Linked DNA regions of Homo sapiens: region 1 is linked to region 2. The links are contacts of gene promoters, found by promoter capture Hi-C in human tissues and cell types (Jung and others, 2019). All regions are on one chromosome and are shown on one strand. Each heading gives the region's core, a stretch centred on a gene start or on the middle of the fragment in contact. The rest is flanking DNA. Distances are from core to core; before and after follow the strand shown. Region 1 overlaps EVA1C (eva-1 homolog C). Region 2 holds the start of TCP10L (t-complex 10 like).

Region 1 (2,810 bases), core at 137-2,636, 78 kb after region 2:
ATTGCTGTTGAGAGGATCGAGGCAGCAGTCAGGGCCCGAGAGTTGTCCAGAAGAAAGCACAAAGCATACCAAGTGCTGGTCTGACAGCACTTAGGGGTGTGACAGAAACCTTCTATCATGGAACTAGAGATTGGAGACCGTGGGAACACATCCGAATCCATATCTCCGTGACAAGGTGGTGCTGATTTCCAGTGATTCTCCCTGGTGGGGGAATCACATAGCTCTGACTCTGGAGCGTGTTTTTGTGTTTCTCTTTCAGTATAAGCTTATCTGTGGCCCTAGAGTTCCTCCCTTATGAAACAATTATGCCTCCCAAAACAGGACATCCCAGGCTGCAAGCCTGTCCCTTCTGCCCAGCTTCCTTACCCCTGCGCCCCAGAAGCCCACAGCAGGGCCTGCCAGAGGCTGATGACATATCTGTCACTGTCCCAAGGGGGCAGGGGCAGTGACGGAAATATTAGGCCACAAAAGGCATGCCTGCAGGCACATATGAGGTAAACACCCAAAGCCAGATGTCAATGAAACAGTAATTATGTGGAATAGGAGAGGTCATATTCTCATGCAAGACTGTCTAAATACGTAAGTCCCCTTGGGCACAATCTGCCAGGGGACAATGGCTCATGCTGAGCCAGCTATTACACTGCTTTGCTAAGAACTTCCAACACACACTTACACACACAGATACACACGCACATGTGCATGCACACACATGCATGCGTACACACACGCACCCACACACACACATGCAGGCACACATACAGATACACACACACACAAACACACATACAGATACACATACAGGCACACACGCACACACACAGATACACACATGCACAGATACACATGCACACACATGACGGCACACACGCACAAGCATACAGACACATGCACACACATGCAACACACATACATACATGCACACAGAGATACACATATGCACAGAGATACACATACATGCACACACACGCAAACACATATGCACATGCAGATACACGTATGCACACACATGCACACACACGTGCACATACGCATGCACACATGCACACAGATACACATGCATGCACACACAGGCACACCTGCAAACCCATGCACACACAGATACGCATGTACACACATGTACACATAGAAACACACATGCACACACATATACACATGCACACACAAAAACACGCATACATACAGACGCACACATGCACACACAGAGACACATGCACACAGATACAGACACACGCACACAGACGCATACACACATGCACACATGCACACACGCACACGCATAGACACCTATGCACACACACGTGCACACATACACACACATGCACATGCTCACAGACGCACATGCACACATGCACACACACATGCACACACACACACCACTCCTTTTCCATTTCTCTAATTTCCAATGTTTTTCTATGAGCTTCCTTAGAGTCATGATCTTGATTCTAGAATGAATTCGGGGAGTAAGTCTGTATTATTGAAATGACAGTAAATTCAAACATACCTAAGAAGCTTTTTCAATGTTGGGGAAACCATCTCACAGATCATTCAGATGACCCCAGGAGATGCTTCACCAGGGACCCTTGGACATCCTCCTGTCCCTTCTGCCAACCTCTGTGCTTTAATATCAGGGGACAAACCTCTCGATTTTGGTTTCTCTTCTCCTTGTCCCCATGTACACTGGACTGCACTACTGTGTCAAAGCTACTTGCAGCCTGACCTGGGAAATGTACTTTTGGATTCACTCCATTTGCCGCCTATTTGGGTGGTTTGGGCTGGAAACTGCCCTGCTCACACTCTTGGCTCCCAGCTGCTCCTGCTTTGGGGGTGCCTAGAGACCCCAGCTCATCCCGTGGGTCACATCCCCACAGTGGGGCCGGGGATGCGACTGAGAGTTGTCTGGGCACCTCTCTCCAGCAGCAGTGAGGATGGAGCTCAGCACTGTGTGACATTGGCTGGTGGCCACTGCCTGTTTGGGTCGAAATGACCCAGCCTGATGTCCACATGCACCTCTGTGGCACACTGGCCTGCAGACCCCTGAGCATGCACTGCATGCTTCCCACCTCTAGAGTGGCCACCCAGACAGCGACATAGACACACCAAGAAAACCCACAGGCAAGCCCAGAGGCACCTGTTCTACTAGGGCTTTGTGAGCCTCTGTGATTTGAGTCACGAGCTTCTTGTGGTGATTTCATTTAGCTAACATCCAACACAGTGCATTTAGAGACTCTTTCTCTTGGACATTATATGGAGGCGTGGTCATGGTTTGCTAAGATAAATGTCACCAAACACCCCTCAATAAAATCAAATAACAGCTCATCAAGTCCTTACATTTTAAAAAAATGGACATCTTATAAATAGCAAATATTGGATGACAATAAAGCACAGGAAAAAGCTCATAAGCCCATATCAGCAGTCATCATTCAGTTGTTCCTTAACTACTGACTGTGCACCTGTTCTGTACCAGCACCGCATCCTAGATACAGGGATACCACACAAAATAAGATGACAAGGCACCTGACCCTGTGGAGCTGAGCCACTAGCAGGAGAGATAGTCACTAAACGAATATCTCTATCCTGTGGTTTCTGGGAATGACAATCACATAAAAGGATAGAAAGAGATGGAGGAAAGCTAATTTAGACAACTCAGGATCAGAGTGGGGAGGTGGTTGCATCCCTCAAAATTCAGAGTAGCTGGAGTGCAAGCCTTGTATTAGCTGAGCCTGAATCCTGGCCCTGCCGCTGTCCATGGTGTCCTCAGGCAAATGGCTCAACTCCTCTGACCACCGGCTTCAAGTGCAGAACAGGGGATC
Region 2 (2,994 bases), core at 317-2,816:
CACACCTCAGGAAGCTACACAAACTCTCACACACCTCAGAAACCTACACAAACTCTCACACACCCCAGGGACTCACACAACCTCTCACACACCTCAGGACACACACAACCCCTCACATACCTCAGGAACCTACGCAAACTCTCACACACCTCAGGACACACACACAACCTCTCACACACCTCAGGACAAACACCCACTCACACACCCCAGGACCCAAGCACAACCCCTCACACACCTCAGGACACACACACAACCCCTCACACACCTCAGGAACCCATATAAGGAACCCACACACCTCAGGCTCATACACACAAGCCCTCACACACCTCAGGAATCCACACACAACCCCTCACACACCTCAGGGTCTCACACACAATGTTGACACACCTCAGGGTCTCATACACAAACCCTCACACACCTCAGGACCCACACAATTCATCACACTTCTCAGGACACACATAAAACCCCTCACACACCTCAGGGGCCCATACATAACCCCTCACACACCTCAGGACTCACACACAATCCTCTCACACACCTCAGGACTCACACAACCTCTCACACACCTTAGGACCCACACACAACCACTCACACACCTTAGGACCCACACACAACCTCTCACACACCTTAGGACCCACACACAACCACTCACACACCTTAGGACCCACACACAACCTCTCACACACCTCAGGGACCCACACACAACCACTCACACACCTCAGGACCCACACACACCTCATACACCTCAGGGACACACACAACCCCTCACATACCTCAGAAACCTATATAAACTCTCACACACTTCAGGACAAACATACAACCTCTCACGCACCTCAGGACACACACACACACACTCGCACACCTCAGGACACACACACACACTCTCACAGTTAGAATGACACATGGGGACAAAAGTGCCTTCTGTTTCCTCTTTGTAGTATTCTCTTCATTCATTCATGACGTCGGCATTTACTGCCTATTGCATGCGAATCGCTTGCAGAACTATCCAAGTGACACACGTCCCAAGCAGGCTCAGGTGAGCCCCAGGTGTATGTTGTCCACACGCAGCACCATGGATGAGAAGGACAGCCAGGGTTTAACAGGAATATCGACTCTTGCTTGCTCCTCATTCTCTTCTCTATCACAAAAATCACACGGACAATTCAGATGGAGATGCATTTAGTGAAATGATGAAACTTTGAATCCTGTCTCCTATTTAAACTCACATATATTATTTTCCCTTCATAAAAATGTTTTTTCTAGTAAATAATTTGATATCCGAAGAAAGTTTGTATTTCTCCAAGAATGTATGCTCAGAGAAATGAGCTCTTACTACACGTTGCGTATTGAAGACTGGATATAAAACACATGGTTTTTGTCAATTTGGAGGAGTAGTTTGACTCTCTCCAATGTCCTTTGTGGATGGATGGACTCCACTGACGATGAGCTTCTATATTAAGAATTGCAGGTTTGGGGATGTTTAATTATTATCTGAGCTGGTACAGTGGTGACGCTGAGTGAGACGTTCATGTCCCTTTAAGACAGAAAGTCCGTTGGAACTGTCCGCTGCTCTCTGGTCTCTGGATATGAGGCAGGAGGGCTTGGGGACAACTGTGGGGACATGGCCCAGATGATCTGATCCTGGCAGTAGTGACTGTTGGGGACCAGGTGAGGTGACGAGGTCTGGTGGTGGGGCTGAAGGAAAGGGTCTTCCCTGGACTGAGGGGGTCATGAGTTTGGGGCCGAGGACACTGGGGTGTCCCCTCAGAGGAGCAGGAAAGAAGGAGCTTTCTCAGGGCTGTGAGGACCGTGACCCCAGCCCACTTCCGCAGAAACATTCCCAGTCTCCGCGGGGAAGGAATGGCAGTGATCTGGTTACTGGTAGGTCTTGCTCTAGACCTTCGATTCGCTTCCATCAGGAGACTCTCTTTTAAATAGCATTTCTCCGATCACTGTGGTTAAACTGTTCCTTCTCACACAGTTAGAAGTTTATGAATTAAACAGTCGGGGTTTCGTTGGGGGCCACTGGCTTCCTAAAACGGACAGGGCAAGGCAGGGGTGGAGGCAGCTTTCAGAGACGACCCTGCAGGCTTGCAGGAAAGCTTTGCGTTTTTCTCTTTCGTTTTTGTTCTCTAATTGCTGTGAACTTCCTAGAACTGGCATAAATGCTGTACCTATAAAAAGGTGTTTCCTTTCCACATCTTCACCATGAATTCACAAATGTCACCCTGATGGTTCAAGACACATACTCAACACGGTGGAGGGTCTGCCTGTGCCCCTCCAGGTGGGTGCTGATTAAAGGGCTGAGAATTCCCTCGGTGTCTCATGCGACCCTCCACTCACACCTGCTCACACCCTGAGACCATTCCACTCACACCTGCTCATACCCCAAGACCATCGTGCTCACATCCGCTCACATCCATTCACATTCCGCTCATATCCTGCTCACAACCCACTCACATCCCACTCACACCGGCTCACACCCCACTCACACCCCTCTTTGGATGACTGGAGTGTGTTAGGTGTCAGGCTGATCTTCTAGGATCTAAAGCATTTTCCACGGAGGATGGTGGAGAGCCAGGTGTGGACAGCTCAGTCCCTCTGTCTGTGGTGTCCTTTCACCTGGTCAGCTTCGGGCCTGGGAATGTGCACATGACCCAGGGGGAGAAGGAGCGGCTGCGGGTCCTGCTCACCCTTAGTTTGGGGCTGGGGCCTTCAGCCCACACTGACGGGGTAGGAGGGCTGCATTCAAGTGTCCCCATAGCCCTTCCCTTCCCAACCAGGATGCTGGCAGGTCAACTCGAGGCCAGGGACCCCAAAGAGGGCACCCACCCAGAGGACCCGTGCCCAGGAGCTGGGGCTGTCATGGAGAAGACAGCTGTGGCAGCCGAGGTTCTCACGGAGGACTGCAACACTGGGGAGATGCCAGTGAGTTGAGCTCTGTGGGGACAGAGTTAGTCCCACCAGGCGGGACCCTGATTCCTGTCCCTGAGG

What was found. The method cuts DNA at HindIII sites, captures the fragments that hold promoters and counts their contacts. A contact is called where the count stands out against the background at its distance.
Region 1: a fragment that was not itself captured here is called in contact with the fragment with the promoter of TCP10L in region 2 in 2 of the 25 tissues and cell types used here (dorsolateral prefrontal cortex and stomach).

The regions. Positions count from the first base shown.
Region 1 is chr21:32,505,916-32,508,725 of GRCh38, reverse strand. The region is part of intron 7 of EVA1C (eva-1 homolog C); the gene reads right to left. Among named protein-coding and RNA genes, the nearest start is that of TCP10L, 78 kb to the left of the region's middle. The HindIII fragment of the contact is 3,428 bases long and covers 1-2,810 here.
Region 2 is chr21:32,584,095-32,587,088 of GRCh38, reverse strand. TCP10L (t-complex 10 like) reads left to right here and starts at 1,566. Exons shown (of 5, transcript NM_144659.7): 1 at 1,566-1,668; 2 at 2,784-2,928. The coding sequence starts at 2,785. The region is part of intron 5 of CFAP298-TCP10L (CFAP298-TCP10L readthrough); the gene reads left to right. RefSeq lists a silencer at 1,528-1,727 and an enhancer at 2,809-2,994. The HindIII fragment of the contact is 17,408 bases long and covers 1-2,994 here.